7 separate regions of the Homo sapiens genome follow, and regions 1, 2, 3, 4, 6 and 7 are each linked to region 5. The links are contacts of gene promoters, found by promoter capture Hi-C in human tissues and cell types (Jung and others, 2019). All regions are on one chromosome and are shown on one strand. The core of a region is centred on a gene start or on the middle of the fragment in contact, and the rest is flanking DNA. Distances in the headings are between cores, read along the strand shown. Region 1 overlaps MPP3 (MAGUK p55 scaffold protein 3). Region 2 holds the start of GPATCH8 (G-patch domain containing 8). Region 3 overlaps GPATCH8 (G-patch domain containing 8). Region 4 overlaps MEIOC (meiosis specific with coiled-coil domain). Region 5 holds the start of ASB16 (ankyrin repeat and SOCS box containing 16). Region 6 overlaps GPATCH8 (G-patch domain containing 8). Region 7 overlaps DUSP3 (dual specificity phosphatase 3).

The links. Contacts are between HindIII fragments. The study calls those that stand out against the background at their distance.
Region 1: a contact is called between a fragment that was not itself captured here and the fragment with the promoter of ASB16 in region 5, in 1 of the 25 tissues and cell types used here (IMR-90 fibroblasts).
Region 2: the fragment with the promoter of GPATCH8 here is called in contact with the fragment with the promoter of ASB16 in region 5 in 1 of the 25 tissues and cell types used here (lymphoblastoid cells).
Region 3: a fragment that was not itself captured here is called in contact with the fragment with the promoter of ASB16 in region 5 in 1 of the 25 tissues and cell types used here (dorsolateral prefrontal cortex).
Region 4: a contact is called between a fragment that was not itself captured here and the fragment with the promoter of ASB16 in region 5, in 1 of the 25 tissues and cell types used here (dorsolateral prefrontal cortex).
Region 6: a fragment that was not itself captured here is called in contact with the fragment with the promoter of ASB16 in region 5 in 1 of the 25 tissues and cell types used here (lymphoblastoid cells).
Region 7: a fragment that was not itself captured here is called in contact with the fragment with the promoter of ASB16 in region 5 in 1 of the 25 tissues and cell types used here (dorsolateral prefrontal cortex).

The regions. Positions count from the first base shown.
Region 1 is chr17:43,828,589-43,831,354 of GRCh38, forward strand. It overlaps MPP3 (MAGUK p55 scaffold protein 3), which reads right to left. Exons shown (of 20, transcript NM_001932.6): 5 at 2,656-2,733; 6 at 1,439-1,519; 7 at 1,066-1,203. Among named protein-coding and RNA genes, the nearest start is that of MPP3, 3.2 kb to the right of the region's middle. The HindIII fragment of the contact is 3,501 bases long and covers 1-2,766 here.
Region 2 is chr17:44,502,021-44,505,032 of GRCh38, forward strand. It overlaps GPATCH8 (G-patch domain containing 8), which reads right to left and starts at 1,386. Exons shown (of 8, transcript NM_001002909.4): 1 at 1,306-1,386. The coding sequence starts at 1,350. RefSeq lists an enhancer at 1,120-1,219 and a silencer at 1,320-1,669. The HindIII fragment of the contact is 22,919 bases long and covers 1-3,012 here.
Region 3 is chr17:44,469,663-44,472,419 of GRCh38, forward strand. All of the region lies in intron 2 of GPATCH8 (G-patch domain containing 8), which reads right to left. Among named protein-coding and RNA genes, the nearest start is that of GPATCH8, 32 kb to the right of the region's middle. The HindIII fragment of the contact is 3,729 bases long and covers 1-2,757 here.
Region 4 is chr17:44,666,359-44,669,251 of GRCh38, forward strand. It overlaps MEIOC (meiosis specific with coiled-coil domain), which reads left to right. Exons shown (of 8, transcript NM_001145080.3): 5 at 18-1,875. Among named protein-coding and RNA genes, the nearest start is that of MEIOC, 11 kb to the left of the region's middle. The HindIII fragment of the contact is 5,508 bases long and covers 1-2,893 here.
Region 5 is chr17:44,169,141-44,172,081 of GRCh38, forward strand. ASB16 (ankyrin repeat and SOCS box containing 16) reads left to right here and starts at 1,564. Exons shown (of 5, transcript NM_080863.5): 1 at 1,564-1,950; 2 at 2,906-2,941. The coding sequence starts at 1,650. The HindIII fragment of the contact is 17,920 bases long and covers 1,171-2,941 here.
Region 6 is chr17:44,441,918-44,445,011 of GRCh38, forward strand. All of the region lies in intron 3 of GPATCH8 (G-patch domain containing 8), which reads right to left. Among named protein-coding and RNA genes, the nearest start is that of ITGA2B, 54 kb to the left of the region's middle. The HindIII fragment of the contact is 3,607 bases long and covers 1-3,094 here.
Region 7 is chr17:43,775,614-43,778,532 of GRCh38, forward strand. The region is part of intron 1 of DUSP3 (dual specificity phosphatase 3); the gene reads right to left. Among named protein-coding and RNA genes, the nearest start is that of DUSP3, 1.9 kb to the right of the region's middle. RefSeq lists an enhancer at 2,628-2,919 and a silencer at 2,855-2,919. The HindIII fragment of the contact is 3,547 bases long and covers 1-2,919 here.

The DNA.
Region 1 (2,766 bases), core at 186-2,685, 340 kb before region 5:
TTCCACTCAAGGCACTTAGTACACAGTAAGCACTCAACATATGTTAACCACTTATTAGTGGCTGTAACTGCAAACACATTTGCACACTTATTGTTAACATCATCTGTGCCATCTATTTGAAGTACGTAAGATAATTATTGCTAGAAAGAGAGGCCATCAGCTAAGAACCTCAGGACTTCTAGCCCCCCAGAACTGAGAACTTTCCAGCATCGCTATCCATCATTTATTCAGCTCTGAACCGCCAGCACCCAATACAGAGCCTGGATAGGAGGGCTCACAATGTGTTTGCTAAATCAATGGATGGCCACTCCATTTTACAAGTGAGGAAACAGAGGCAGAGGAGAGATCCTCGTCTGTTTGCAGAAGAGGCTCGTCGGAGGTCATTTGGGGAAAGTTGGAAATAGAGAATGCCAGCTGTGGGATCCTCTGGAGCCAATCTCAATTCTCTGGGCTTCCACCACTTCTGAGCATCTCATAAACAACGCTGTCCCTTTGCTCGGTAAATCAATGCTGAACCAGGACCAAAGTGATAGCAGTCTGTCTGCTGGGGAGAGGAATGCCCTGTGCTTCCTCAACATTCAGAGCAGGCATTGTCACACGTTTTCTATAAGGGGCCACATGTAAATATTTGAGGCCAGCCACACAGTCTCTGTCACAACGACTCAACTCTGCCATCGCACTATAAAGGCAGCCACAGCCAATCTGTAAGTGAATGGGCCTGGTTGTGCTCCAAAAAAGCTTTATTTTAAAAAATAAGCTGTGGGCTGGTTTTGGCCCTTGGGCTGTAGTTTGTCCATTTCTGGCTTAAAGCATGATCAGGGTCACCCTGTACAATTGTGCAGGTTATTAACTACACAAAGGGTGTTGGCCACAGTTGAGAGGGGCTGTATCCACCTAGAGAAAGGGGTGCCCTGCACACAGAGGCACCACAGGGATGAGCAGCAGCGCAGGCAAAGCTGCCGTCACTCACTCTGAAGACTTCGGGGAGGATCTTGTCCAGTGTTCTGGGTGGGGGTGAGAGGCAGGGGAAGAGTGGGTTAGAGAGGGGCAGGCAGCAGCACCTACCAGGGGTTCCTTGTTCTTCACCAAGCGGACGATCTTCACCGATTCCTCATCAAAATCCTCATCGATATTGTCAGGCAGAGGCGGGAGAACGGGGTCAAAATTCTTCTGGGCAACCGTGTCATGTACCATGAGCACAGCCTGCCGGGAAAGCCAGAGAAAAGGAAGGCTGGCCCGCCGCTCACAGGGTCAGCAGGCCGCAGCTGGCCGGTGGTATGGAGGGTGGCAGACGCCATGCCAGAGAGACAACTGCCCAGACACTAGTGCTGAGGATCGCTCCCTCAGTCTCCACTCCTCAGCCTCATTAGGAGAGCTCCCTCCGCCCCCATCCCAGGAGACCCAGAGGCATGGCTGGGCAGGGGCTCTGTGTGACTACCCTCAGGTGCGGGGTGGACAGCAGCTGGAGCAGCTCCCTCTCATCACTGTGCACGGAGGCGGCCTGCAACTCCTCCATCACCTGCAGAGAATGAGACAGGCGCCACTGATGGCTAGAGGTGCCCCTGCCCCATATCTGCTGGGTCCTTCCTCTTTGGAAGGGCCCACCCAGCTGCAGCCCCCAGGGGCACACCAGACCCTCAACCACCCGACGACGATGATCCTGGGAACATCACACCAGGGGTCAGGAGCAGCTCTATGGGGCCATCCTCCAAGGAGCCACCGTTTTAAGCCCTACGTGCTTTCTGCTTTATGTGGATCTTCTCACTGAACCCTCGCAACCAACTTGATGCAGAGGGTCTTGTTACTTTGCCATTTTACAGATGAGAATCCTGAGACTCAAAGAGATTAAACATTTTGCCCGAAGTCACAGAGCTCATATACAGCACAGCTAGGATTTGAACCTGGGCTTATCTGGCTCTCAGATGCTATTTTATGAATGAGGAAATGGGAGCTCAGAGAGGTTGAGTGGCCTACTTAACATCACAGAGCTGGTGGGACAGGCAGCGCTGAGCCTGGGAGCCAGGCAATCTAATGTGCCCCTAATCACATTCCACAGTGGAGAAGGGCCCAGGGCTCTGCACCCACAAGCTGCACTCATCCCTCCCCAGGCCATCTCCTGGGGTTAGGTGAGTTTATTCAGGAACTGATCTTAGTAATCAACCAGAATGGGTTTTCCCCAACCACGCAACATAGACGACTAGGTCCACAAGAAATTAAGAAGCGTTCCTTTAAAAAATGAGAAGCCTGAGCCAGTATGCGGGGACACACTGTAGGTCCCTTGACTTCAGGAAAGCACAGACATAATGTCTTATTGACCTATTCAAATCACCAGTCCTCAGGGCAGTTTGGGAACTGCTGAGCCAATCCAATGCTCTCATTTACAGCAGAGGAAGCAGACTTGCTAAAGAACACACAGTAAGTGGGCAGCTCCATGTCACAGTGTCTCCCAGCCCAGTCCAAGGCTCACGGGTTCCTCCCTACCTTTCGGGGAACCCAGAGAGAGGAAGAGAAGGAGGAGGACAAGGGAAGAAAACACCTCTTCACCTTTGGGCTCCTGATTCCCGGTGTCCCCACACTAAGCAAGCGAGGCAAGATGAAGGAGCCCTACAGGGTGGGGAGTGGGGCAGACACTGTAAGGAGAAACCTGGGGCTTACGTCCTCAGCGAGGGCCACAGCGCTGTGCAGAACTGGGGTTGGACTTTGCCTTTCATAATAGCGAAGCTTCTCATGAATCTGCAAAGACAGAGTATTTCAGATGCACCCTGG
Region 2 (3,012 bases), core at 136-2,635, 330 kb after region 5:
CCTGAGACTCTCCTGTATTGTGCTGCAGCTATACAGCAGGCGCATGATCACAAGGCTTTTTAACAGCCCCCAGATCCCTTACTGCTGCAAAACTTCTCATAAGCGTTCTATGTACTAGACTGTTAACAGTGCTGAGTTAAAATTGTTAAACTGCTTTACCTATTTATTTACCAATCCTATCATCTCAGGGAATTCAAACTCTTTAAACTGCCTTCTGAAACACATCTAGAGTGCTTTCGTACTGCTTTGAGTAGGATCTGCAGCGGGATAAAAACTTGAGTTCTGAGATTCATCCCGACCCAAATTGCAGTTGCCAGGATATGCGGTAGTAATGCAGTGTTTTTTTTTTTTTTTTGAGACTCTACGGATGTATTTTACCTAGAAATAGCCAATCTCTACTAAATCCCTTTTAGTCTTCGAGATTTCCGCGGTAACAATTTCAACAGAAAGGTATTTTCAACAGCGAAAAAACAAGTTATTCTAATTTGGCCTTTATTTTTTACTCAATAGAGCTTGCCATCGTAAGGGCATTTTTCCATACTAACATTTGCAATTGAAGAAAGAAAAATCAAGCTTTTGGCACTAGTGACCCCATGCGTGGACGGCCTATTATCATCACGCTTCTCACAAATCTTTCGAGATAGGATTTGAGGTTAGGCTCACATCGGATCATAGTCCAGTAACTTACTGCTTTCCAAGCCCAATTAACAGCCTAATAACAGCAACACTTATGCCCCGCGAAATCTCAATGTATGACTAACCAATAAGGCGTCTGATAGCGAAGGCAACCTTTTCCCAGGTAAGGAAGAGGAAAAGCAGACAATGAAAGGAATTGATTTATCACAGTGAAGAAAGAAAAGAGAAGGACCCCAAAAGGATCCGTGAGAGCAAAATCCCGGGGTTCGGAAGCCTTGGCCTCAGCAATACTCTCCCCCAAGCCCTCTCAGCCCAACCCAACCACCCCTCTTGTCCCCTGGGAGCCAGCCCTTCGCCGGCACAGATCGGGCAGACCTGGAGGGCACAGCCCCTCACACGGCGCTCAGGCCCGGTTCCGAAATCCGATGCCAAACAGGCGGAAGCCGCAAGCCCCGCGGCCTGAGTTTCAGGGGTAAGAGAATGCGGGTGCGAGGAGATGCGGCCTCCCTCAAGCCGGGAGGCCTCTTGAGAAAGCAGAGACGGGAGAAGAGCGAGCTGGTTCGCAAGTCGGAGCAAAACTGGAAGGAAAGAGGGCTGGGAGCCGGAGATGAAGGAGGTTCTGGGCTAGACCAGCGCCTTCCCCGCATCCTCGGCGACGCCCGTGTTTACCTGAAAGTCTCGGTCTTCGTTGAAGCGGGAGAAGCGGTCCGCCATTTTGCCGCCTTCACTCCTCTCAGGACGACGCTCTCCGGTTCGCTCCTTCCCTCCTGCGACACCCACCCCTCCCCGGTTCCCCGCCTCCTCCCACGCCCACCGGGCGCGCGCAGCCGAGGGAGGGAGCGAGAATGCGCGTCCTGACGGGAGCCCCGCGGCGCAGGCGCCTGCCAGCCCTGGAGGCTGACCCTTCCCTCTAGCCCCTGCTCCGCGCGCGACCCGGAGCGACCCCGGTGGCCGCGCGTGCGCACTCCCGCCCGAGAGCCGCGAGAGCTTCCGGAGGGAAAGGTCAGAGGGGGCACCGTGCGGACAAATCTGGATGTTTTGCTGTTGCTCACTTCCGGGTGTCTTTTCTCACTGTTGCTTCCCCGTGTGCGCAGAAGTCCATCGTCTTCACTAAATAGCAGCATAATGTTGGGCCGAAAGCGCGACCTTAGAGCCAGACTGCTTAGCTTCGAATCTCAGCTCACCCTGAGGATTCAACGGTGAACGAGACAGGAATGATCTCCTCTTATGGGGATTTCATTCCAGTGGAAGAACTCACATAACTCGTAAAATAAATATTTTTAAATATCAACAAGTGCCACAAAAAAGTAAAACTGGCCACAGTGCTGAGAGGGACAGTCTCTGAAAGGACCTTTGACCGAGGCACAGCGAGGAGCCTACAGCATTGGGGCATAGGGAACGTTAGACCCAAAGGCCCAAAGACTGCAAGGAGCTTGACTTCGAGCCATCCTTTGAGAGAAGTATTTCACAAGGGACCGAAGTTGATCCAGATCGACTAAAGCTCTCTGGGCTTCAGTTTCCTTTTTATACAATAGGGAAATTGGATTCAGTAATCTCTGATGCTCCTGCCTAGCGCTGACTATGAGAGTCAAGAATCGGATTTTTCCATCCCTTCTGAGGACCTCACCCAGTGCTCCAGGACTCTTAGCCAAAATACATAAAACACATAGAAGGGTGGCAGGACTTCTCTCCTTTTGAAAAGAGTAGTTGACAGAAATCACACAATGGAAAAATGGGTCTTACCCTGCCCTGAAAGAGTCAAATGGAATGTAATTTTTTGAGGAAGGGTGTGTATTTTCTAGCTGTTACCCTTTGCCCCACCCATGCTTCAGCCTACGCTTCCATCTAAGGGGAGGCAGGGCACACAGAATTCAAACATTGTATTCTTTTTTTTTTTTTTTTTTTGAGACGGAGTCTCGCACTGTCGCCGGAGTACAGTGGCGCAATCTCGGCTCACTGCAACCTCCGCCTCCCAGGTTCAAGAGATTCTCCTGCCTCAGCCACCCTAGTAGCTGGGATTACAGGCGCCCACCACTAAGCCCAGCTCATTTGTTTTTTTTTTTTTTTGAAAAGGAGTCTCACTCTGTCGCCCAGGCTGGAGTGCAGTGGCGCGATCTCGGCTCACTGCAAGCTCCGCCTTCCGGGTTCACGCCATTCTCCTGCCTCAGCCTCCCGAGTAGCTGGGACTACAGGCGCCCGCCACCAAGCCCGGCTAATTTTTTGTATTTTTAGTAGAGACGGGGTTTCACCGTGTTAGCCAGGCTGGTCTCGATCTCCTGACCTCGTGATCCGCCTGCCTCGGCCTCCCAAAATGCTGGAATTACAGGCGTGAGCCACCTCGCCCGGACTTTTTTTTTTTTTTTTTTTTTTGTATTT
Region 3 (2,757 bases), core at 211-2,710, 300 kb after region 5:
TAAAGACTATAAGCAAGAACCAATGCTACTAGGTGAACCCATGCAAACAAGTTGTAAAAATTCCCGAAACAAAAAAACTCTATAGCTCACTACAGATGACACAATGAAGACTAGAGAGAAAAGCCATATAGTAATGCTACACCATTCAGCTCCAAGAAGCACATTATTTCTAGTGCAGTCCACATATGGTCACTGCTAAATGTCAAATCAGCAGTCTTATAAAGAATTACAGTTTGGAACTAGTGGAGTCCACAGATCTAGACAGATATGCAACATCACAAAACCCAATTATACATATACTTCCAAATCCTTAAGATGCGCAAACTAAACATCAGCAACTGGAGTTTGAAGCTTACACTACATTTTTAAACCTATTAGGTCATCCTGACAACCATAAAGAAAGAATTTTAATCAGTCAGGTAGAGCAAGGACCGACTAGCGGCTGATGGGTAGTTGCACTTCCAACCACAACAGTAACAACATGTTTTAAGTCTATGATGCATGCATTCTGCCTTCTATATAGCTTAAAGTCATTCTCCCATCTGATCCCTCATCTTTTTTTGTTTGTTTGTTTTTGGAGATCGAGTCTCGCTCTGTCACCCAGGCTGGAGTGCAGTGGCACGATCTTGGGTTCAAGCGATTCTCCTGCCTCAGCCTCCTGAGTAGCTGGGACTACAGGCGTGTGCCACCACACCCGGCTAAGTTTTGTATTTTTAGTAGACATGGGGTTTCACCGTGTTAGCCAGAATGGTCTATCTCCTGACCCTGTGATCCACCCACCTCGGCCTCCCAAAGTGCTGGGATTATAGGTGTGAGCCACTGCACCCAGCGCTTTTTTTTTTTTTTTTTTTTGAGACGGAGTCTCGCTCTGTCACCCAGGCTGGAGTACAGTGGCGTGATCTCGACTCACTGCAACCTCTGCCTCCCAGGTTCAAGCAATCCTCCTGCCTCAGCCTCCTGAGTAGCTGGGTAATCCCAGCACATGCACAGGCATGTGCCACCACGTCTGGCTACTTTTTGTATTTTTAGTAGAGACAGGGTTTCACCATGTTGGTCAGGCTGTTCTCGAACTCCTGACCTCGTCATCTGCCCGCCTCAGCATCCCAAAGTGCTGGGATTACAGGCGTGAGCCCCTGCGCCCAATTCCTCATCTTCTAACTATGATAAAGGTCATAAAGGACCGTGTATCCTAAAAAACACCAATTAATTCTTCTGTGATTGAATCCTAGACGGAGCTATGGCTTTAGATCAAGCTTTGTTTTGTAAATATTTTGTCTTTAAGTAAGTGGAGGTTATAATTATAACATTTGAGACCTAAATATCTCATAAAGCAATAACAATTTTTAAAATTCAAATTCAAAGCTTCTCGTAATAGGGATAAAATGTTCACACTTTTCAACTTGTTTTTAATAGAGATAATCAAGTTGTTTAGCAATTCTCATATAATTTTCTTAAAAAGATATTTCATTCTTGAGGAAAAATCTCATTGAAAGATATCTGGTTGGTTGAAGCAAATAAGGGAAAATTAAACTTCAAAAAATATTATTAAATGCTTTACAAATACTGGATTTTGATATATTTTCAACATTTACCTAATAAAATTGAAATACCAATATCTCACTAACAAATCTAAGCTTCGGAAGTTCACTAAAAGCATAATACATTATTGCATCTTCATGTCTCATTTCCCATCTTGCTGGTTTGCATCAAATTTAGCCTACTACAAAATAAAAAGACCTTAATCCTATACTCACAATAACCCTTCACACAGGCATATTCTTGGCACAAACCTGTGCAGAGACCTCCACGGTTACCAGCTGCTGCAGATTACCTTTGGTTAAAAAAAAATGACTAGACCTTTAGCTCCTGCAATGATCTGTAGACTCCCAAAGCTGCATATTTTCAGCCACTTTTGAGTTGCATGCTGTAGCAAAACAGTCAGCACCTCTCAATAGATATTGCTGCAGAGAAAGATTTTAATTCAGCACTCTTTCTGTGTTAGAAGTAACACCATTTTCCCCTAAAAACAAAACAGCTTAATATAGCCAGCCAGCCATGTAATTAAATATTTACTTATTATTTAGTGGGCATTCCTCAGGTGATAAGGGACTTCTTTTGTTTGGTGGGAGGGAGGGAACACTACCTACTTTGATGCCAATCACTGTAGGAGTTTCTCTTAAAACTTAAAATTTTCTGTGACCAAAAAAAGTAAAAAAAAAAAAAAAAAGTTGAAAAAAGAGAAAAACACTTAAAATTTTACTCACAAATGATCAGGCAACAGAAATAAGATCCCTCTTATCTTGTGTGTCAATACTTCTTTTTTTTTTTCTTATTTTTTCTTGCATCTTTGTTTATTCTCCCAGATCCTGTGCCCTACTTCTACCTAATACAATGTAGGCCATGAAGTTCTCTCCTACAACCTAAACTATCTCATCACAAATAATGCATATATTTATCTTTCAGAAGTAAATTTTCATTAGAAGTGTAATTACTAATATACATTTCTGAACATTCATTTATTTAAAAAAATTAAATATCCAGCCTGAGTACTATATACTATTTGCTATTTTAAGTGAAGAAGGTAGCACTACTTAATAAATAAGGCATATTATCAATTCTACTCCCACTGAATGAGATTATTCAACAATGATTACTCAATTAGACTGCCTTCTGATACTGTTCTCGCTATATGTGGCAGAAAAAGTCCTGGACATTATGAGAGGTAAAATAGCATTAGCCTCATGTGCCATAGGAATG
Region 4 (2,893 bases), core at 274-2,773, 500 kb after region 5:
ATATTTATTTGTTCTAGGACCTGCTCCTCCAATTTAAAGTCAGTTTGGCCAATGAACACAAGCAGATTTGCAGATCACCATGACCTCTTAACAGAAACCAAAAGGCCAATAGATACAGTCATCTCTCAGCAAGCTTTTTATAGTGATGAATCTGTGTCAGCAATGGAAAAGCAATACCTGCGTAACAGTAATCTCACACCACAACAAAAAATAGATGAACTTCATCATGGATTTACTGGTTTAGATCTTGAAGAACAATGGATGTACCCCTCACGAAGTGATCATTCTAACTGTCACAATATTCAGACAAATGATACAGCTAAGACAACATTCCAAGAATATCCACTTATCAAAAACTGTTTTACACCCCAAACTGGTCTGTCTGATATCATGAAAGAATCAGGAGTTGATATCTACCATTATGGAAGAGACAGAATATGTACTAAAGGTCTTGAAGCACCACTACAGCAAAAAAGGGCAGAGATGTTTCTTTCTCAATTTAATAGATACAATGAAAATGTAGATTATTGTAGATACCCAGAGTATGTTCATCCTAATAAGGCTAAGCTTAATAAATGTTCAAATTTTAGTGTCCAAGATAGCAAAAAATTAGCCAATGGCACACCTGAAACACCAACTGTAGAAGCAGACACCTACACAAAGTTATTTCAGGTTAAGCCAGCGAATCAGAAAAAAATGGAGGAGACAATCCCTGATCAGCAGAATTTCACATTTCCAAAAACTACGCCACATCTGACAGAGAAACAGTTTGCAAAGGAAGCAGTATTCACTGCTGATTTTGGCTTAACATCAGAATATGGACTAAAACCTCACACAGCTTGTCCCGCTAATGATTTTGCTAACGTCACAGAAAAGCAACAGTTTGCTAAACCTGATCCCCCACATTCTGAGTATTTTAAATCAGTGAATTTATTATCAAACTCAGCAACATCTTCAGGAGGTATCAATTTAAACAGACCAACTTGGATGAATGTTCAAACAAAAAATAACACTCCTATTCCTTATCGAAATCAAGGTAACTTGATGAAATTAAATAGTCATTTAAGTGCAGCTTCAAAAGGTTCTAACCATTCTTCAGATTTCCCCCAACTATCATCCACAAACTTAACCCCAAATAGCAATTTATTTCAGAAATATTGCCAAGAAAACCCTTCAGCATTTTCTAGTTTTGATTTTAGTTACAGTGGTGCAGAAAGAATCCAATCTGTCAATCACATAGAAGGACTAACAAAGCCTGGAGAAGAAAATCTCTTCAAATTGGTTACGGATAAAAAAATAAAGCAGCCAAATGGATTTTGTGATAACTATTCAGCTCAGAAGTATGGGATAATTGAAAATGTAAACAAACATAATTTTCAAGCCAAGCCCCAGAGTGGACATTATGATCCTGAGGAAGGTCCAAAGCATTTAGATGGCTTATCACAAAATACATACCAAGATCTACTGGAGTCACAGGGTCATTCTAATAGCCACAGAACGAGAGGTGGAGACAATAGCCGTGTGAATCGCACACAAGTGTCATGCTTTTCTAATAATTATATGATGGGAGATTTAAGGCATAATCAGTGTTTTCAACAACTTGGTTCAAATGGGTTTCCCCTAAGATCCACCCACCCATTTGGCCATTCAGTTGTTCCACTGTTGGATTCCTATGACTTACTTTCTTATGATGACTTAAGCCATTTGTACCCTTATTTTAATATGATGTATGGTGATAATTCTTTTTCTGGTCTCATGCCAACTTTTGGATTTCAAAGACCAATTAAAACCCGTAGTGGACCAGCCAGTGAACTTCATATTCGTCTAGAAGAGTGCTGTGAACAATGGAGAGCATTAGAAAAAGAGAGAAAAAAGGTAACACAAAGTTAACCACTTAGGAATAACAGTATGTTCCTTTTGCCTGTCTTCATTCTGTTTACCTTAGTGTAGTGTAAGAGTACTTGCCTTATTTCTTTTTGCTTTATTTGTTGTTGTTTTAAAGAGACAGAGTCTCGCTCTGTTGCCCAGGCTGGAGTACAGTGGCAGAATCATAGTTTACTGTAACCAAACTCCTGGGCTCAAGCAATCCTTCCTCCTCCTGAGTAGCTAGTACTACAGGCACATGCCACCATGCCTGGCTAATTTTAATTTTTTGTAGACATTAGGTTTCACTATGTTCCCCACGGTGGTCTCAAACCCCTGGCCTCAAGCCATCCTCCCACCTTGATGTCCCAAGTGTTGGCATTACAGATGTGAGCCACTGCACCCGGCTAACTTGCCTTATTTCTGAGCTGAATTCTATAATGTCCAGGATTTGCTGTAAGTTCATTACTGTAAGGAATTAAGTGGGTTACTTAAAAACTAAAAATGGATGGGGTTGGCCAATGGGAAGCTTAAATAAATGAAGATGAAAAATGCTTGACATTTTAAAGTTATTGTTATTCTAAGTTGACTTGCCCTGAAGTAGATTTTTTACCCCCTTAGTTGTTACAAGTTTATTTCTTTGAATTTTGTAGTGTTAACCTGTTGGTATACTCAGGTATTTTATTTGTATTAAGACGATAGCTGGGCGCGGTGGCTCACGCCTGTAATCCCAGCACTTTGGGAGGCCAAGGTGGGCAGATCACAAGGTCAGGAGTTGGAGACCAGCCTGGCCAACATGGTGAAACCCAGTCTCTACTAAAAATACAAAAAATTAGCCAGGCGTGGTGGCAGGCACCTGTAATCCCAGCTACGCGGGAGGCTGAGGCAGGAGAATCGCTTGAACCCGGGAAACGGAGGTTACAGTGAGCCGAGACTGCACCACTGCACTCCAGCCTGGGCAATAGAGTGAGACTCCATCTGAAAAAAAAAAGATAGAAAAATACTGTGGTATTGTGGTTTACATTTGTTG
Region 5 (2,941 bases), core at 314-2,813:
GAGCTTGCAGTGAGCCGAGGTCGCGCCACTGCACTCCAGCCTGGGTGACAGAGCGAGACTCCATCTCAAAAAAAAAATAATAATAAATAAAAATACAAAAATCAGCTGGGCATGGTGGCATGCACCTATAATCCCAGCTACTCAGGCAGCTAAGGCAGGAGAATCACTTGAACCCCAGGAAACGGAGGTTTCAGTGAGCCGAGATCACCCCACTGCACTCCAGACTGGGTGACACCATGAGAAAAAAAAAAAAAGGATGATTGAAGGCAGTTTCTACAGACTAGTCTGTCCTGCTTGGAGAATGGGGGAGGCTGCCAGGTGGCTGCAGCAGCTGAAGGCAAAAAGTGTACCATCTTTTTTTTTTTTTCTTCTTTTTTTAAGAGATGGAGAGGCAGGGGGTGGTGGCTCACGCCTATAATCCTAGCACTTTGGGAGGCCGAGGCGGGCAGACCACGAGGTCAGGAGTTCGAGACCAGCCTGGCCAACATGGTGAAACCCTAAATTAAATCTCTACTAAAAATACAAAATTTAGCTGGGCATGGTGGCGGGTGCCTATAATCCCAGCTACTCAGGAGGCTGAGGCAAGAGAATCGTTTGAGCCCGGGAGGCGGAGGTTGCAGTGAGCCAAGATCGTGCCATTGCACTCCAGCATGGGAGACAGGGTGAGACTCTGTCTCAAAAAAAAAAAAAAAAAAAAAAAAGATATAGGTCTCACTGTGTTGCCCAGGATTGTCTCAAACTCCTAGGCTCAAGCAATCCTCCTGTCTTGGCCTCCCAAAGTGCTAGGATTACAGGCATGAGCCACCATTCTTGGCCCAAAGCACACCATCTATGTGGGGTCCTGGCTCTGCCTCTCACAAACTGTGACCTTGAGCCAGTAGATTACTTTGTTAAGCCTTAAATTCCTCATCTGTAAAACAGAGATAAGACCACCCATCTCAGGGGCATTCAACTGTGATAATTTCATTTATTGTCCAAACCAAGTTTACTAATTATTGGGTGGGCTGGGAAGTATGATCCCCTGGGTGAAGGTGGATATGAATGTGATTTAAACACCGTGAAACTCTGTGCATATGTACAGAGTTATTGCTGTTACTGCAGATGCTGGGAAGAGCTGCTCACCTTCTCAGTAACTCTGCCTTGACCTCCCCTTACCTCCTGTGCTGAGGTCAGCCCTCTCTCCTCCACGTGGGCCAATGGTGGCTCCTGCCCTCCAGCCAACATCAGAGAGGCTGGAGGCACCTTGTCTTCCTCCCAGCCCTGCCCATCTCCATGACTGACCTTTTTGCGCACCCTGGACCTTGCCAACCCAAGATGCTCGCTCTAGAGATGAAGGTGGATGCAGATGCTGGGGTTCGGGGGTGGCCTCAGCTGAGGGCCTGCTGACCAACCAAAGGGTATCGGCAGGGGCAGGGGCTGGCCCTCACCCTGGGCTGGGGGTTGGGCCAGCAGCTTCTCAGCACCAGGATCATGACTCTGAGCAAACCATGTTTACCAGAGCAGCAAAGGACCTATTTATAGCCTCAGCTGCTGCTTTCTCTGGCTCACGGTGGCGGGGGCAGGGTGGCTCCTCAGAGCAAGGGAGGTAGTCGGGTCGAGGGAACCTGGCTCTGCCCAGGTGCCACTGCCCAAACCCCTGGGCCCCATCCATGGCAAGAGAGACCTTCCCCTTCACCTCCTCCATGCTGCGCTCTCTCCGCCTGCAGCAGGAGTGGCTGGAATGGGAGGACCGGCGGCGGGCGGCTGCCCAGCAGTGCCGGAGCCGCAGGTGCCCGTCAAGTCCCCGGGCCCGACTCACTAGGCCTCACCGTTCCTGCCGAGACCCAGCTGTCCACCAAGCCCTCTTCTCCGGCAACCTGCAGCAGGTCCAAGCCCTGTTCCAAGATGAAGAGGCCGCCAACATGATTGTGGAGACTGTGAGCAACCAGCTGGCCTGGTCGGCTGAACAGGGTAGGGGGCACCAGAAGAGGGCAGAAGAGGAGGGAGAAAGAAGGGGAGTGGGTGGGGAAGGGGGAGAGTCTAGGCCCCTCCTTCCCTGCAGACCACAGACTATAGCAGCCCTTTCCACCACCTATCCTAGCTCCCTCCTAAACAGAGATGAGGCAGGGTTAGCAGTCTGTATGTCTTTTAAGAATTAAAAGTTGACCGGGCACAGTGGCTCACGCCTGTAATCCCAGCACTTTGGGAGGCCAAGGCAGGCGGATCACGAAGTCAGAAGTTTGAGACCAGCCTGACCAACATGGTAAAACCCCATCTCTACTAAAAATAGAAAAATTAGCCGGGCATGGTGGTGCGCACCTGTAATCCCAGCTACTCAGCAGCTGAGGCAGAAGAATCACTTAAACCCGGGAGGCGGAGCTTGCAGTGAGCCAAGATAGCGCCACTGCATTCCAGCCTGGGGGACAGAGCGAGACCCTGCCTAAAAAAAAAAAAAAAAGAGACAAGGTCTCACTATGTTGCCCAGGCTCATCTCGAACTCCTGAGGTCAAGTGATCATCCCGCCTTGGCCTCCCAAAGTGCTAGGATTACAGGTGTGAGCCACCACCCCAGGCCCCAAGGTGAACAAGCCTTTGACACTATTAGCCATTCAAAGACGCTGAGATTTCCTTAATGGGAGTCACTCTACTTAGTTGGCCCCTGTGGTTTTATACAGCAATTAATTTTTTTATGACACATACTATGTTTTGTTACAGATTGATAAGCTGTATTAAAAGGCTGTTCCAATTTATTCTTCCACTTCAGGACTTGAATAAGCCCCCTTCCACAGGTACAGCCTGGCAGTGTTTGTGCTCAGCAAACCATGCAGAGGGAAGGCCAGTGTCAGCTGTCAGCTGGAACCAGCATCCCCACTCCCTGCCCTGCCCTGTCTTATACACCACCTCCCAAAACTATTTGCTCTCCCTAGGGTTCTGGGTGCTGACCCCCAAGACCAAGCAGACGG
Region 6 (3,094 bases), core at 467-2,966, 270 kb after region 5:
CTTGGGAGGCTGAGGCAGGAGAATCGCTTAAACCCGGGAGGCGGAGGTTGCAGTGAGCTGACATCGTACCATCGCACTCCAGACTGGGCAACAAGAGTGAAACTCTGTCTCAAAGAGACAAAAATAAAATAAAATAAAATAATATATATATACACATATATATGTGTGTATATGTATACGTATATATATACATATATATATATATAGAGAGAGAGAGAGAGAGAGAAGGAGAGAGAGAAAGAGAGTTTCTACTATATTCAAGGCACTGTTCTGGGCACTGCATATAGTGATGATGTAAAAAAAAAAAAAAACACCACAACCGCAGCACCACGTTCCATGAATTACCAATAAATAGGCAAAATAGAGTAATCTGACCAGCTGGAACTTCAGCTGAGAATGAGAGAAAACAGAACATTTGTGAAGCTAATGCATAAGCAGTTAAAAAAGCTTAAAAATGTCTGAAGTTGTCTTTTAAAGATATCTAAAGTTGTCTTTAAAGACGACCTTAATGAAGTGCAAGTAAATATAAAAGCCATCAAAAAGTCACAAAATCCATGTTTTTTTTGAGACAGGATCTTGCTAAGTCACCCAGGCTGGAGTGCTGTGGTGCCATCTCCGCTCACTGTAAATTCCAGCTTCCAGGCTCAAGCAATTCTTGCCTCTAGGCCTCCTGAGTAGCTGACACTACAAGTGCCTGCCACTACATCTGGCTAATTTTTGTATTTTTAGTAGAGATGGGGTTTCACCATATTGCTCAGGCTGGTCTCAAACTCCTGGGCTTGAGTGATCTGCTCACCTCAGCCTCCAAAGTGCTGGGATTACAGGTGTAAGCCAATGAGCCCGGCCTAAAATCCACTTTCAAAAGACAATTAAAACTGGGCTGGGCTTGGTGGCTCACGCCTGTAATCCCAGCACTTGGGGAGGCCAAGGCAGGAAGATGCCTTGAGGACAGGAGTTTGAGACCATACTGGGCAATAGAGCAAGACTCTGTCTCTCCAAAAAATTTTTCTTAAAAAAATTAGCTGGGCATGGTGGCATGCACCTGCAGTCCTAGCCACTGAAAATATTGAGGCAGAAGGACCACTTGAGCCCAGGAGCTGGAGTGAGCTATCATCGCACCACTGCACTCCAGCCTGGGTGACAGAGAAAAACCTTGTCGAAAAAGAGAAAAGAGGGGAAAAAAGACCATTAAACTGATAAAGGCCAAGAACCTACACTGACATCTTTAAAGTACTTATTTCTTCTTTTTAAGTAATGCAAATACATATGTGAAAATCAAGATAAAAAAAATTACGCAGGTGATTCTCTGATTTGCAAAAGTATTCAAAATAGGATTCAAGTCATGTTAATGGACTTAAATATCATTTCATTTATTGAAACTGTGATCACATGAAACTTTCAGAAACACTGAATAAAAAATGGTACATTTATTTCCAAACCAAAGCTTAATTTTTGCAAATTTCTCCTGAAAATGAGTCTTTAGGTGGCATAGAAACAATTATTACTTTCAGCATCGTTTAGATATTTTTCTAAGCAACTCTAACATATGATATATGCTACCTCTCAGAAAACATTAACTGAAAACATTGAGCACATTACTTAATCCCTAGAGAGTTTTTAAGGTTTAAAAAAAAAGGAAAAACTTTCTACCCAAAATAGAGTTCAAATTATCCAGTACTACAAAAACCTACTATATTCTTGCCATGGCCTTTTTAGTGACCTATACAACAACCAAATTAATTTGATTTTTTTCTTCCTTTATTTATTTTTTAAAACAGGGTCTCACCATCGCCCAGGCTGGAGTGCAGTGGCATAACCACGGCTCACTGCAGCCTCAACCTCCTGGGCTCAAGTAATCCTCCCATCTCAGCTTCCTAAGAAGCTGGGACTACAGGTGCACACCACCACATGTGGCTAATTCTTGTTATTTTTTGTAGAGACGGGATTTCACCATGTTGCCCGCCCAGTTTGTTCTTGAACTTCTGAGCTCAAGCAATTTGCCCACTTTGGCCCCACAAGGTGCTGGGATTACAGACATGAGCCATGGTGCCTGGCCAATTTGATTTTCAAATACAGATGTTTTCTAAGGCACACAAGTTTAATTATGACCTAAACGAATTTCCATCTGATACTTTCCATCTAGGATAAAATAGTTCAATTTTAATCATATAACTAAATATATTAATAAACAGGAACAAAGGTGGGGCAAAAGGCTTTAGTGAAAGTGTTGTTAAATCAGAATGTTAGGCCTGGGAAGGATATCTCATCCAGGGATAACATGATATCCTCAAGCCCTTAGAAGAGATAATAAAGAGAATTCATGAGTTACTTTCAATTAAAAAAAAAAAACCTAAAGAAAATCATACTTTTACATGAGATACAACTGTTTTAGCTAAAATTATACTGACTCACTAAAGATTGCCTCAAGCTAACCACCATGCTAAGATCAATTTGTTTTTTCAAATGGGAAAGCCAAATTAATAAATACAATTTTGGGGTAAAATAGTCTAAAACATGGGGCTGAGGAGATACGGAAAAAAACAGTTAAGTCTTTAGTTTAAAGAAAAAAAAAAGGCCAGGCATGGTGGCTCACGGCTGTAATCCCAGCACTGTGGGAGGCCAAGGCAGGCAGACTACTTGAGGTCAGGAGGTCGAGATCAGCCTGGCCAACATGGCAAAACCTCGTCTGCATTTAAAATACAAAAATTAGCTGGGCGTGGTGGCATGTTCCTGTAATCCCAGCTACTTGGGAGGCTGAGGCAGGAGAATCACTTGAAACTGGGAGGCAGAAGTTGCAGTGAGCCGAGATCACACCATTGCACTCCAGTCTGGGGCAACAAGAGAGAATCTCCATCTCACGGGGGGAAAAAAAGTGGTAGCACTTTTGTGCCCTGAGTTTTACTTATGTTTATATCCATATCTGACACAGTATGTAGGCCAGAATGGCATTTAGTTAAAAAGCATTTGTTGACTCAGAGAATGAACATGTTCGTAGCGGGTCTGAAACTTGTTCAACTGTAAATACTTAGTCATCATGATGCGCGCCGCTTAACATCACAAGATACTAATGATTTAACTCTCATAATCAAGGAAT
Region 7 (2,919 bases), core at 313-2,812, 390 kb before region 5:
ATAGTACCTGCTACATAGTAGGTGCTGAATAAATAAGCGGTGAATGAGTGCAAAAGAATAAATTTGTCACGTACCAGGCAGCCCCCTCCCTGCCCCCAGAGGGATCCTACCTGCCACATTCCACTGGCTACGTTTCCAAAGCTCTTTTGGGTGATTTAGTACTTGGGGAGTAAGTGGCCCCAACAGAACTATGGGAGGTTACAAAATAATTTATCTAAGGTCGGGTGCAGTGGCTCACACCTGTAATCCCAGCACTCTGGGAAGCCGAGGCAGGTGGATCACCTGTCAGGAGTTCGGGACCAGCCTGGCCAACATGGTGAAACCCCGTCTCTACTAAAAATACAAAAGTGAGCCGGGTGTGGTGGTACATGCCTGTAATCCCAGCTACTCTGGGATTACAGAGGCTGAGACAGGAGAATCACTTGAACCCGGGAGGTGGAGGTTGCAGTGTGCTGAGATTGTGCTATTGCACTCTAGCCTGGGTGACAGAGTGAGACTCCGTCTCGAAAAATAAAATAAAATAAAATAAAAATAATAATTGGTCTGAATGGTGAAAAGGCCCCTTTATTTCATCTCACAAAACATCCCAGTCCAAATAGCAGTTTATACTTTATAAAATGCCACCTCCTGTGTGATCTTGCTTGCCCACTGCGAGCAGCCCTGTGAGGAACAAGGATGGCAATATCCCTGCTTAACAGAGCTTGAACTCAGGCCCAACAGGATGAGCAGAGGGATGGGCACAGGCCCCGTGTGCTGCTGGTGGCAGATCTGGGAGAAGACCTCCTTTCTCCCGACATCCAGCCCTGCTCTATCTTCCACCTCACTCTGCCCCTCATGCCCACATCTGCTGCAAAACCCCCAAGGCCTGGCACATGTGGCTCACACAGGCTCTGGCTCTGCCTTGTGAGGACGTGGCTGCGGCCCTGATTTTGTTAAGGGAATGGAGCCCAAATCCTCTTGGTGCTTGGTGCTCACTGATCCTCCCTGTTGAGGAACCCCCACACCCCTGGCCAAGTCAAGGTCAGAGGTGCTTAGAGGGCAAGGGATGTATTTTCTACAGTGGCCATCAGCAATTGCCACTCTGGCTACACCAGACGTGTACAACCTTGGTTTCCACTTGGGAAGTGATGACAGCTGAATGGCCAACCTGCCCAAGCAAGCGGGATTCCTGAGGCTAACAAGGCCTGCTTGCTGCTTGGTGCAAGAGGAAGGGTGTCTCTAGAGCTTTCCAATTCCTGAAGCCTTTGGCTGACACTGTGGGACTCTGTTTATTCCTGCTTAGGACACCGCGCAAGACTGTGAAGCAGTGGCTGATAGAAAAAAACACTTTGAAGAGTCACTCCCATTCATCTCCCTTCTCTAATACTTTTTTTTTTTGAGATGGAGTTTCGCTCTTGTTGCCCAGTTGGAGTGCAACGGTACGATCTTGGCTCACTGTAACCTCCACCTCCCGTGTTCAAACGATTCTCCTGCCTCAGCCTCCGGAGTAGCTGGGATCACAGGCGCCAGGCACCATGCCCAGCTAATTTTTGTATTTTTAGTAGAGACAGGGTTTCACCATGTTGGTCAGGCTGGTCTCGAACTGCTGACCTCAGGTGACCCACCCGCCTCGGCCTCCCAAAGTGCTGGGATTACAGGCGTGAGCCATCGTGCCAGGCCTCTAATACTATTAATAATTCAACATTCAAAAAATTTACAATTATCATTATTACTATCTCTACTATGAATGAACATTGTACAGTGCCTGACATAAAGCAGGTGCTCAGACTGGTGAATGAATGATGGAATGGATGAGAACTGTCCCCATGAGGCTGGGGCCTGATGGACCCCTTCTAGTTCCATGATGACCCCCATTTCCGTGGCAGTCCTTGGCAGGCTAAACAGCAGGTCATAGCGGAGGTCAGGAAATACATACATGAACAAGACATTGACCCTGTCCTTGTAGTCCCTCACACACTCTGAGCCACCATTTCCTCCTCTGTAAAATGGGAGGAGGGTTAGTTTTGAGTTTTCAACATGCCATCCTTGGGCTGAGCCATGAAGCTTAGGATTTTGGTAACTGGGTCCTCAGAGTATCGTGAAAATCCAACTTGAGGCTTTCCAAGGCTGTACAGGCATGCTAATATATTCTTTCTTGAGGCTCCTATTTCACATCTCAGAATGTTAACACTGGTTCTTTCCTGCTGATTAGACATTCTTACTAGAAAAAAAATTTAAAATTTAAATTAAAAAAAATCTCTTACTGTCCGGGTGCGGTGGCTCACGCCTGTAATCCCAGCACTTTTGGAGGCCGAGGTGGGCGGATCATGAGGTCAGGAGTTTGAGACCAGCCTGGCCAAGAGACCAGCCTGGCCAATATGGTGAAACCCCGTCTCTACTAAAAATACAAAAAGTAGCCAGGCGTGGTGGCGGGCGCCTGTAATCCCAGCTACTCGGGAGGCTGAGGCAGGAGAATTGCTTGAACCCAGGAGGCAGAGGTTGCAGTGAGCCGAGATCTCGCCATTGCACTCCAGCCTGGGTGACAGAGCCTGGGGGTGAAAGGTCAAGAGCCTTTTCTAGGTGGTGGCTCAGGTCCTTAGGGGGGTTATCACTGGACCGTTCTAGAATCTCCTGTAAATCAAATCACATCTGGAAGGTGGGGGCCTGGAAATCCCGGCCCAGCTCCCCGGACTCGCTCATTTGGGGTGTTTAGGTTCCCTGATCCGGGACTGCCGGGCCGGGAAAATTCCATGCCCGAATTGTGACGTCGGCCCGTTGCCATGGCGGCGAAGGCAGACATTCCGCGGTGACCTCACTGCAGAACCAGGCAGCTGTCACATGACGCGCGGGCAGGAGACCGGCCGGGCGACCGAGGGTCACCTGTTAAGTGAACATGGTAGCCCCGACCCCGCCCAAGGCCAAGCCCCAAGCGGGTGGCGG